4 separate regions of the Homo sapiens genome follow, and regions 2, 3 and 4 are each linked to region 1. The links are contacts of gene promoters, found by promoter capture Hi-C in blood cells and fetal thymus (Javierre and others, 2016). All regions are on one chromosome and are shown on one strand. Each heading gives the region's core, a stretch centred on a gene start or on the middle of the fragment in contact. The rest is flanking DNA. Distances are from core to core; before and after follow the strand shown. Region 1 holds the start of MIPEP (mitochondrial intermediate peptidase). Region 2 overlaps SACS (sacsin molecular chaperone). Region 3 overlaps SACS (sacsin molecular chaperone). Region 4 overlaps SACS (sacsin molecular chaperone).

Region 1 (2,997 bases), core at 156-2,655:
ATACATATGCAGAACGTGCAGGTTTGTTACATAAAAATGTGCTGTGGTGGTTTGCTGCATCTGTCAACCCATCACCTATGCAGGTATTAAGCCCTGCATGCATTAGCTATTTGTCCTGGTGCTTTCCCTCCCATTTTGCTCATTTTCTAACCTAGGTTTTAATCACCATTCTATCCAACAAATCATTGTTTGATCATTATTTGCCAGACATGAATCTCTACTTGTTTTCTAGGATCGCCCTAATAAAGTACACAAACTGGGAGTCTTTAAACAACAGAAACGGACTTTCTCACAGTTCTGTAGGCTGGAAGTTTGAGATCACCGTAGCAGCAGGGCCATCCTCCCTCCAAAGGGGATACAGGAGGATGCAGCCTTGCTGCTTCCAGCTTCTGGCAGCTGGTGGCAGCATCACTCCAGTCCCCGCCTCCATCTTCAGGTGGCTGTCCTCCTCCTGTATCAGCCAAATTTTCCTCTTCTTACAAGAACAGCTTCCCTAATCTAGTATGACCCATCTTAATCATAATTGCAAACTCCATATTTTCAAATAAGGTCACATGTACAGGCACCGAGGGTTAGGACTTCAGCATCTATTTTGGGAGACACAGTTCAACCCAATCTGCCCTCTGGTTCCCAAAATTGATTTCCTTCTCATGTGCAAAATACATTTTCGCACCATGTCAACATTACCAAAAGTCTTAACACTTTCCGCATCAACTCCTCTCACCATCTACATCATTTAAATAAGCTACAGAGGAGACTTACTGTGTGATTCATCGTGTGGCAAAATGTCTCTCCATCTGTGATCCTGTGAAGCGAGACGAGTTAATCCACTTCTAAAAGACCGGGGGTTGGAGGGGGAGACAGGCATAGGGTAGACAATCCATTCCAAAAGAGAGAAAGGGGAAGGAAAAAAGGGTTCACGGGTCCCAGGCAATTCTGAAACCCTGGAGGGAAAATCCCATTAGACTTCTTTCACTATTTCCCATCTAAAATTTTTAACTGAGCTATGCAAGAGTAAAAAGTTACCGGACAGAGACACCAAACAGAGAAGTGCAGGATAAATTTACCAAGAGAGTAGGTTAAAAGGGAAACTTCTCCTTCAGGCCTATGGTGGGCATTTCTTGTTTACTCAAGTACCTGCCGTCTCTCAAAGAATATCTAATGTCCACTGGAATTCGAATATGTCATGATTTTACTCGCGCCCACCCCTAGTCAACTTGGGAGGGAAGCGCAACCCTAGCCTTTTCTTACTCTGGACACAGGGGGCGGTAAACCGGGAGGGCGGCCGAGAAGGCGAGGGGGAGCGACGCTCTTGCTCTCTGGACGACAACGTGCCCACGTCCTGAGGCCGCGCCCAGACCCGGAAGCGGGGCCGTCACGTGGGGCGGCGTGGGCTGCTGCCTTGGAAACGCGGAGCGCGCGCTCCCAGCGAAAGCAGCAGGGCAGGGATCTGCGTTGGAGGAAGGGACTGCTCTGGTGCTAGAATGCTGTGCGTCGGAAGGCTGGGCGGCTTGGGAGCCAGAGCAGCAGCTCTGCCGCCCCGCCGGGCGGGCCGGGGAAGCCTCGAAGCCGGGATCCGGGCCCGAAGGGTCAGCACCAGCTGGTCTCCCGTGGGCGCCGCCTTCAATGTCAAGCCCCAGGGCAGCCGCTTGGACCTGTTCGGCGAGCGCCGGGTGAGCGGCGCAGGAGGAGCTCCCCTCAGTCCCCGAGCTAAGCCGACCCCTGCTCCGCGCGGCCAGCAACAATCAGGGCGAGATTGTTTGGGCCTGGGAGGAGGCGAGCAGCGAACCCACCTTTTACAGTGGCGTCTTGTGTGCGCTCTCGATGAGGGCAAGGTCACCTCTGCTTTGAGGGGCCGGGTTTAGTGGTCTCCTACCCAGAGTGTCGGGTCCGGGAACTGCTTCTGCATGAGCCCCTTGCTCCACGTGAATCTGAATAGTTCGTTCTGGCAGTGGCGGTGAATTCGTCCTGCCAGGACCCGCCCTCTGCATACACTCAGGCGCACCCCTGCTAAAGCCCTTTAGCTCCAGCGCTACAGTCCTGCCTTAAGAGGCCTATCCCTGTGCGTTCACAGGCGGCATCACATGGTCTTTTTGCAAGGACACGGCTGCCTGCAGTCGAGTAATGGTAATTTCATTAATACCTGAAATTCCATCATCTATTAATTAATTTATTTCAAAGCTTTGGGCTTTCTTGTTTTAAAACACAAAACTCTGTTGAGACGAGTCTCACTTCCCATAGTGCCATGGAATTGGTCACTTTGATTTCTTACCCCAGGAAGTCACTAGCCTGCGTTGTCTAGTGAAAGGTGAGAGGAAGGCAAGGTTGGAAAGGACTTACCTGATGCCTGTTCTACTTGGAGTTTGTACATTTTGTCCGTTTTAGGTTAAGGATTACTTTTATTTTTGCCTTTTAAAATTTCGTTATACTGTATTGCCTTATAAAGACAAGTCTAGGGTATTGTTGCACTGAGCTAAAGTGTGTGATTCTTGTTTTATCTCCATTATCAGTTTTGTCTATTTAAAAATTATTTTGTGTGAAATTTGCTACACCACCTTCCTTAAGGGTATGTAGTGTTGGTATTAACATAGTTGGTGTGAAGAGACCTACTTGTAGGCGCTGAGCAGAAAGACGTGAGGGGAAGCCTGATTTTGGGTGGATGAGATATAACTAATTTTAGCTTTTATTTTTCCCTTTTTGTATCATGATATTCGGCACTGATAGCAGATTTTCAAATTTTAGAATTGATTTTTGCCTTGAAAAAAAAAAAGCCTTATTCAGTTTTTTAGCATTATGGTCACTGGTAATCCGATAGTTAGAATTCCCGAGAGCAATATGGGCAGGTTGTACTGGGAAGTGGAAGTAGTCTGTGCTTGAATCAAATTAAATCAGTATAAAGATGACATTTGTTTTTGGTCCTGATTTTCCTTTGTCTCCCACTGACTTTCTTTTATTTTATTTTTTATCTTGTAATATATTTTGAAGAGAGATTACTAG
Region 2 (2,997 bases), core at 141-2,640, 560 kb after region 1:
TACCCGGGAGAATATGTTGGGTACCTTGTTGATGCTGAAGGTGGTGATATCTATGGATCATACCAGCCAACATACACATATGCAATTATTGTACAAGAAGTTGAAAGAGAAGATGCTGACAATTCTAGTTTTCTAGGAAAGATATATCAGATAGATATTGGTTATAGTGAATATAAAATAGTTAGCTCTCTTGATCTGTATAAGTTTTCAAGACCTGAGGAAAGCTCTCAAAGCAGGGACAGTGCTCCTTCTACACCAACCAGCCCCACTGAGTTCCTCACCCCTGGCCTGAGAAGCATTCCTCCTCTTTTCTCTGGTAGAGAGAGCCACAAGACTTCTTCCAAACATCAGTCCCCCAAAAAGCTTAAGGTTAATTCTTTACCAGAAATCTTAAAAGAAGTGACATCTGTGGTGGAGCAAGCATGGAAGCTTCCAGAATCGGAACGAAAAAAGATTATTAGGCGGTTGTATTTGAAATGGCATCCTGACAAAAATCCAGAGAACCATGACATTGCCAATGAAGTTTTTAAACATTTGCAGAATGAAATCAACAGATTAGAAAAACAGGCTTTTCTAGATCAAAATGCAGACAGGGCCTCCAGACGAACATTTTCAACCTCAGCATCCCGATTTCAGTCAGACAAATACTCATTTCAGAGATTCTATACTTCATGGAATCAAGAAGCAACGAGCCATAAATCTGAAAGACAGCAACAGAACAAAGAAAAATGCCCCCCTTCAGCCGGACAGACTTACTCTCAAAGGTTCTTTGTTCCTCCCACTTTCAAGTCGGTTGGCAATCCAGTGGAAGCACGCAGATGGCTAAGACAAGCCAGAGCAAACTTCTCAGCTGCCAGGAATGACCTTCATAAAAATGCCAATGAGTGGGTGTGCTTTAAATGTTACCTTTCTACCAAGTTAGCTTTGATTGCAGCTGACTATGCTGTGAGGGGAAAGTCTGATAAAGATGTAAAACCAACTGCACTTGCTCAGAAAATAGAGGAATATAGTCAGCAACTTGAAGGACTGACAAATGATGTTCACACATTGGAAGCTTATGGTGTAGACAGTTTAAAAACAAGATACCCTGATTTGCTTCCCTTTCCTCAGATCCCAAATGACAGGTTCACTTCTGAGGTTGCTATGAGGGTGATGGAATGTACTGCCTGTATCATAATAAAACTTGAAAATTTTATGCAACAAAAAGTGTGAAGATATTTAACGAAAAAAAAGGTAGATCTTGAATGTGTTGTAGCACGAATAAATTGCTGTACTTCATTAAGCTTCATTGCCAATTAGCTAGGAATTGTTAAGCACATTGCAGATTGTTCTTGGAGAATTCTGGAGTTGTTATGAACATGAATACCAACGGAAAACCTTAACTGAATCTAAAAGAAAACTATTTTGAAGATGGTGGTGAGCTGCAAAATAGCTGGATGGATTTGAATGATTGGGATGATACATCATTGAACTGCACTTTATATAACCAAAGCTTAGCAGTTTGTTAGATAAGAGTCTATGTATGTCTCTGGTTAGGATGAAGTTAATTTTATGTTTTTAACATGGTATTTTTGAAGGAGCTAATGAAACACTGGACATATAATTGGTTTAAACATAAGGGGAATTAAGTCTTTGTAGTCTGTCATTTTTTTAAGTGGATCCTCTTGGATGCGTTATTTTCTCATCAGCTGGCTCTGATCATGAATTTGTTGTAATTTTATGTTGTACTCAGTGCATTTAAGAAATGGTAGAGTATTTTAATCCTATTACTTGACTAAGAGTGTGAAGGTAGTACTTTTTAGAGTGCACTGAGTGCACTTTACATCTTTATTTAAATTTTTTTTTAACATCTTATGTTTACAGGCTTCCTGTTTGATGAAGATAGCAACGGAAAACTCAAAATGGTGGCAGTTCTTATTACCAGTTGTTAGTATTGTTTCTGGAAACTGCTTGCCAAGACAACATTTATTAACTGTTAGAACACTTGCTTTATGTTTGTGTGTACATATTTTCCACAAATGTTATAATTTATATAGTGTGGTTGAACAGGATGCAATCTTTTGTTGTCTAAAGGTGCTGCAGTTAAAAAAAAAACAACCTTTTCTTTCAATATGGCATGTAGTGGAGTTTTTTTAACTTTAAAAACATCAAAAATTGTTAAAATCATTGTGTTATCTAGTAGTTTATAATTATCGGCTTATATTTCCCCATGAATGATCAGAACTGACATTTAATTCATGTTTGTCTCGCCATGCTTCTTTACTTTAACATATTTCTTTTGCAGAATGTAAAAGGTAATGATAATTAGTTTATATAAGTGTACTGGCTGTAAATGATGCTAAATATACTTTATGCAATTAAGGGCTTACAGAACATGTTGAAACTTTTTTTACTTTTATTGGGAATAAGGAATGTTTGCACCTCCACATTTTATTGCTTCTGGATGTGAAATCATGTAATTATTTCTGCTGTTATATAAAGTGCCATACTTTTAATAAAGGAAAATGTACATATGAAATCATCGTAATGGGTGTTTCCTGAGAAATAGTTCATTGGAAATCAAACTTAACATCTTAATATTAAGTTTTAATGTGTGTGTATGTGTGTATTTATTGGAAATATTAGGAAAATATTTTCCTGTATATTTTCATGCTGGAATTATAGATTTTTAGGATTAATAGAATATGAAGTGCTTGTTATATACTAGGTTTAGGTGCTCATTGATTTAGTTGAGTTTATGTCACCTTTTTAGGGAATCAGATTAGCTGATATATGTGGTATATATGTGTTTGGAAACAGATACATTAAATATTTTTTTCCTCTAGGTAGAGCTGAATTGATATTTCCATTGCCTCAGGGACAGCTGCATGTCTGGGACTAATTCACACTTTATTACTGACAGATAGGAGTTCTTCATCTTTATAGTTGAGGCACAAGTCTTCAGAGTTAGGCAGATGAGGGCTAAGAGTGCTCTCTGTTCTGGAGCTACCTGAATTC
Region 3 (2,997 bases), core at 331-2,830, 540 kb after region 1:
TTTTTGCTCTACATAATGATTACTCCATTGCTTTGCTGACACAGAGCACTATGGAATTCTGTTTATGAGTGATCAGTAAACACTGATTGGCCAGTCTTGGAAGTACTACTGCATAAAATGGAAACATCATATGTTTTTTCTGATATGGAAACTTTTCCTCTAATTCTGTAGCTCAAACAAAATTTGTCACATTATTTAATAATTGTACCTTTTCCTTGTATTACATTTAAAATCCTTAGCTAAATATTGAGCTACTGCTTGTATTTTTAGTGTTTACTTCTACTGCCCCTTTTATTAGCAGTTAAATATGTTTCACTATATTTCATTTCAGGAAAAACAAAACAGACCTCCACCTTGATTTTCTTTCTTGTATTCTATCATAGTCCAGCTTCCGGAAAGAGTTGTCTTATTGTCTGTACTTCCTCCTTATTTATTATCACTCCAAACAGACTTTTGCTTCCACTGTCATTCCACTAAAATAGTCTGGCTGACGTCACTAGTTAATGATTTTTCTGTTACTCAGCTCAGTGGATTTTTCTGTTTCTTTTACCTGATCTCCCAGAAGCTTGGTATTCCTCTTTGAAGCCCTCAGCCATGATGATACCATTCCTTCTTGGCATTCACTGATTTTGCCTGCTTCTCAGAATTATTTGTGAACCTCTGTTCCTCACTTCACTCCCTAAATACGTGTTAGTGTGGGGGCTCCTTCCTCAGCTCTTTTACTTTGTTCCTTTCCTTGAATACATTCATCCACTCCCATGAAAGTGTTAGTGACCACCATATCTTCAGTCACCACCCTAGTCTTCAGAGAGGTAGTGTAGCAGAGATTAAAAACCTGGATTTTGTAGTTACCCAGATCTGGGCTTAAACTTCACTCCTCTATTGTGTGACTTTGAACAAATTTTCTACCCTCTCTGAGCCCCTGTTTCCTCATCAGTAACATGGTAATACAGTACTATCCTTCTAAGGGTATATCTCAAGGTCCCCAGGATTTGATTACAGAAAATTCAGGATTGCTTCACTGCAAGGATAATGAAATAAGGATTGAGCAGAGGATGGGAGCAACCACACCTTGCCAGTTGAGTTGTATCCAAGTTTGTGTTATTGCAGCAGATCAGGTTATTGAAAGCTTCATTGTAATATTTTACTCACAGCAGGCATTATGCTGAAGATCGAATGATGAATACGTAATACATATAGTTTAACATAATATCCGGCACTTAATATAATACTGACAAATGGTAGCTATTGTTAGCATTTTGCACTTGGAATCCCATAAGTATTTCAAAATCAATATTGCAAAACTTTAGTCTTCATCCTCTCCCCAAATCTGTTTCTCATTTTGAGTGATCCCACTGAAAATAACACTACTGTCCACAAGATTGCTCAAGAATGAATCCTTAAATTTTCTTCTTTGTTCCCCACAGTCTCCAGGATCTGTTGACTAAATTTTCTGTGCCAGTCCCTTGGTCTTACTCCACTGCCTATTACAGGTCCTCTAATTTCTCGTAATGTTGTTACTGGACTCTTGCAGTTGATGTCCCTGTCTACAGCGCTTGGGCTTCATCTGATCATGTCACCCTCCTGCTGCAGGTTTTCCAGTGGACATTGAATCTATCAGGATAAATCTAGCCCTGCTAGCATGAACTAGGGGACTTTCCATGATTGTAAACTTCCATGATTTTGGAGTGCTGTCTCACTGGCCTTGGTGCATGCAAGCGCCCTCTTCTGTTCTAATTGCCCTCTTCTGTTCTAATTATACAAGCACTTGTAGGTTGATGAACTTGAATCCTCCCTATATTTCATGAGAGCAGAGAGACCTGTCAGATTTGTTACCACCATCTAGCACAGTGCCTACTTCAGTGTAGGTGCTCAGTATTTTTTTTCCTGCATGAAAATTTTCTCATAGCTGCCCTTTTGTACATGGTGTTCCTTTTGCTTAGAATACTTTCTTTCCATCCTCTACTTTGCCCAGCTAATGTTTATTCATCATTCAGTACTGAGCTCATGTGTCACCTCCAGGAAGCTTTCTTTGACATCTTGCCCTGTGCCTCACCCCTGCCCTGCAGTCTGAGGTGAATGCCTCTCTTTTGCTCTTGGAACCCAGTACATAGTCCATATGATCCTCTTTGCTTTATTAGAATCATGTTTTTACTGTGCTACACTGCAACATCCTTGAGAGCAAGGGCAATCTTTATTTTTATATTTCCAAGGTCTGGCCGAGAGCCTGCTTGCCAAGTTTGACTGGATAAGTTGATGCTTCAGCTGCTGGGCTGGGTGGGGACCGCATGGAGGAGATGGGGCGCAGAGGCCAAAAGGCAAATCTCTTTCTTAGTGTCTGTGAGTTAATAGTTCTCTTCAAATCAGTGTCTTCTGTAATCTTGTTTATTCTTTACAACCATGAGATAATAGAGCCTGTATCTCCATTTGAGAGATTGAGACATTGAAGCTCAAAGAAATTGAGGGATTTAAATGACTTGCTTGAGTTGCAGAGTTGAAGCTATGATTTTTGTTTTTTTAATTTCCAGGTCTGAATTATTTCTGTATTAAGTTGCTTAAGTAAATGGATGGATATCAGAAATTGGAGAATAGTTAGAAGAGCAGGTAAATGGATTTTGGATGAAGAAAAAGGAAACAAGAACAGTTTAGTGGTACAGATGCTTGGTGTCGGGTCTTATTTATAATTTTTAAAATTTTCATACTTATTTATTAGATGAGACCAAAATCCGTAACCTTTCCTATGAGGCACTTCATTAGCTGGCTCCATTTTCTGGGTGTTATGAAGATGCCTGGTACATGGAAGGTTCTATTGATATTTGCTATTTTTAATCTCCTTCCCTTAGTTCCATGCTTTTTCCTGTTTGGAGGACAGCATGTTCTGTCCCTCCCTCAGGTGTGATACATGTGGCTTCCTTGCCAACTCCTCCATTCACTACCTCTGCTCATCTTTCATGCAACCCATGTGTGCTTCCATGCTCTGTTCTCCATGGCACTCAC
Region 4 (2,997 bases), core at 258-2,757, 520 kb after region 1:
CAGAAAGCGAATTCAAAAACAGTTTTTGTATTGACTTATTAGGAAAGTGAGGATGGAAAGAGTATTGCTACGAGGTGGTTTTGGGGTAGAAAGAAGTGAATAGAATACATTTAAAATAAAGGTATAGTGGTAACAGGAGTAGGTTGTCATCTGTTTAGAAGTGAGCGAGTGGGATCCTTGCTGAGAAATGAGAAAGGTCTATGGCAAACAGCTGAGGGCTACGCGCCTTCTGCTTTGCTTATAGATATATTTGTATTGTAGCCAGTTCAATGTAATCTTTGTTCCTTGGATGTTGTGGTAGAATTAGACTGTTTTAGATTTAATAGGAGTCTTAGAAATCACCAAGACCTACACCACCACCTTCTATGGTATTTGTGTTTGCTGAAACAGGTCCAGAGATCTTAGTGGCTTGCCCAAGACCAAATACAAAATGTATTGTTGCTGTTTCCCAGAGTTAGTTTACAAACAATCTCTCAGGATTGCAATTTAGGGGAAAAGCTTCCTATCCTATTTTTTATTCAACTTGAGAATGAGTGGAACCTGGGACTTAGATTTTATCTTTAGTTTTCTGCCTCTCTGCTCCCTAAAGTACACATAAATAATAAATAGATACCTGAATGAAAACAAGGTCGAACATCTAAAGTGCTATCATTTTGTAAGTTAACATTGTTTTTCACTACCTATTTAATTCTTATTTCCATCCTTCATATTATTATAATATCCTAATGTAAATAAGATTGTTAATTTTTAGGGATTCTCTGGGATTGAATGAGGCCTAAAAAATTAAAATCCCATGAGAAATAGTTAGTTACGTAACAAGGAAGAATCACTAGCTGATAATGAGGCTGCAGGAGGCACGACTTAGCTGTTCATGTTTGGGGTGGAACAGCTGGTGGGTACCACACTCCAGCCCTTTGGGATGCACTGGGTGAACTGAGCACAATCTCAGAACTGACTTTTCACTTCTGCTCCCTCAGTCTCCTTGTAGTTATTTTGTTTCATGTAGTCATCGTACCACCTCTCTACTCTGATGTAGGCATCACTGTTGACATTGTTGTAGTATCAGTTAAAGTGCTCTTCAATTTTTGCCCATCTGTACCTCCAATTTAGTGATCCCAAGGCTCTGGGGAAGTAAAAAAGCTCTTTTGATGATCATGGGGTTGGATCTAGGAGCTGATTCTTGATTCAGATTCTGGAGCTCCCTTCAAACTGAACGGAGCCCAGCGTGATTTTAGTAGGTGTGCAGAAGTGATTGGGGTTGTTAGGATTGGAAATTTTGTTGAGGCAAATCTTGCAGTTTGCCCTTTCCTTTCTACATTACGGGGAGCTGGTCACCCTTCCACTCACCCACCATTCACCAAACAAATGGTAGTGCTTTCTTCTTGATGAAAGGAATGAGTCAGTCCTGACCATCTGGAAGCTTTCAGTTTAGTGCAGGACAAAGACATTTTTATATCTCAGGCTCTCAAGAAAGCAGCCAATTGAAGGGTATATATAGATTGCTACTATTTGGTTTTATTGTTTTTCTGTGGAAAGGTAAGTTTAGTAAGCAAAGGATAAAAAAGGTCTATTTTTGGCAATCACTCAAGCTTAAGTTACCTGCCACACAGGACGATATGTGCAGCTTTTGGAAATAGAATAATTTCCTTTGAACAAAAGCTTTGGGTAGATTGTAAATATGAGACAGTTATAAATAGGGCCCAGGATTAATTTGCTAAGTGATAGCAAATTAAAAGACAAAATTTAAGTGCAAATAATTGGAGAAGGACTTTTCAACCATACTGTCACATCTATGTAACAATTACTTTCAGTAGTAGCCTCACCAGATCTTAAAGGTAATGTTGCAAATAGTGGGTTTCCTTTATTTAAGTATATTAACTTCTTAAATATTATAGATAAATACAAAGATGAGCAGTAGATTACTGTGTTATTAATTACTATTTTTTGGTATATTTTTTGGTTAGGAATTAATTCAGAATGCAGAAGATGCTGGGGCGACAGAAGTTAAATTTTTATATGATGAAACTCAATACGGAACAGAGACTCTTTGGTCAAAAGATATGGCGCCATATCAGGGTAAGAATCAATAATTAGGAACAAATTTTATTGTATGCACTAACAGGCAGTTTTTAATGATTAATAATGCTTTGTTTAATGAACAGTCTATCATTTGTACTTTTTGGCATGTTTATGTCCACTTCTTCAGATGTTTTTCTCTGCTTTTGGTGGGAAGGTGTCTCCACCAGTTGGTATTTTTAGAGAACAAAGAATAAAATCTGAAAACTCAAAATGACAAGCAATGTAATGACCAAAGCCTCTTATTCTATTCAAACAACTTGTATTTTATATTATCAGTAGGATAAAGGGACACCATTTATGTATAGTAACACTTTCCTGCATTTGGAAAGATGTTGTGAAAGGCCATGCTTTTGTGTATTTTCCGCTTTAGGAGTACCCTCGACATTGTTTGGAAGTTGGGTGGGAAGAAAGATTGAAGGAGAGGAGAGAACAAGGAAAATGAAAGGAAACATGATAAGAAAGCCATAAACTAATAAATTATTAATCCAATAAGAACCCTAACCAATAGACTCCTAATATCTCACTTCTACTCCGGGGAGCTTTGGTGTCAAAAAGAATGTTCATAAATTGTAGTATACCTCTGGCTGGGTGCGGTGGCTCACGCCTGTAATCCTAGCACTTTGGGAGGCTGAGGTGGGCAGATCACCTGAGGTCAGGAGTTTGGGACCAGCCTGGCGAACGTGGCAAAACCCCGTCTCTACTAAAAATATAAAAATTAGCTGGGCGTGGTGGCAGACGCCTGTAATCCCAGCTACTCAGGAGGCTGAGGCCGGAGAATCGCTTGAACTCGGGAGGCGGAGGTTGTAGTGAGCCGAGATCACATCACTTCAATTTAGTATACCTCTGAAGTCATTGTCAATGACTGTATGTGACAGAAAGTTACTGAGAAAAAGTGGGATCAAGTCAGACCTTCTGAGA

What was found. The method cuts DNA at HindIII sites, captures the fragments that hold promoters and counts their contacts. A CHiCAGO score of 5 or more calls a contact.
Region 2: a fragment that was not itself captured here is called in contact with the fragment with the promoter of MIPEP in region 1 in 1 of 17 cell types (naive B cells); the score reaches 5.7 in naive B cells.
Region 3: a contact is called between a fragment that was not itself captured here and the fragment with the promoter of MIPEP in region 1, in 1 of 17 cell types (activated CD4 T cells). The highest score is 5.9, in activated CD4 T cells.
Region 4: a fragment that was not itself captured here is called in contact with the fragment with the promoter of MIPEP in region 1 in 7 of 17 cell types (naive CD8 T cells, total B cells, naive CD4 T cells and 4 more); the score reaches 8.0 in naive CD8 T cells.

What each region holds. Positions count from the first base shown.
Region 1 is chr13:23,887,808-23,890,804 of GRCh38, reverse strand. It overlaps MIPEP (mitochondrial intermediate peptidase), which reads left to right and starts at 1,405. Exons shown (of 19, transcript NM_005932.4): 1 at 1,405-1,673. The coding sequence starts at 1,485. It overlaps PCOTH (prostate and testis expressed opposite C1QTNF9B and MIPEP), which reads right to left and starts at 1,937. Exons shown (of 4, transcript NR_172510.1): 1 at 1,794-1,937; 2 at 763-805. RefSeq lists enhancers at 1,006-1,065, 1,125-1,625. The HindIII fragment of the contact is 13,692 bases long and covers 1-2,183 here.
Region 2 is chr13:23,328,351-23,331,347 of GRCh38, reverse strand. It overlaps SACS (sacsin molecular chaperone), which reads left to right. Exons shown (of 10, transcript NM_014363.6): 10 at 1-2,518. The coding sequence ends at 1,212. Among named protein-coding and RNA genes, the nearest start is that of SACS-AS1, 89 kb to the left of the region's middle. The HindIII fragment of the contact is 209 bases long and covers 1,286-1,494 here.
Region 3 is chr13:23,347,706-23,350,702 of GRCh38, reverse strand. All of the region lies in intron 9 of SACS (sacsin molecular chaperone), which reads left to right. Among named protein-coding and RNA genes, the nearest start is that of SACS-AS1, 70 kb to the left of the region's middle. The HindIII fragment of the contact is 897 bases long and covers 1,132-2,028 here.
Region 4 is chr13:23,364,245-23,367,241 of GRCh38, reverse strand. SACS (sacsin molecular chaperone) reads left to right here. Exons shown (of 10, transcript NM_014363.6): 6 at 1,965-2,076. Among named protein-coding and RNA genes, the nearest start is that of SACS-AS1, 53 kb to the left of the region's middle. The HindIII fragment of the contact is 169 bases long and covers 1,423-1,591 here.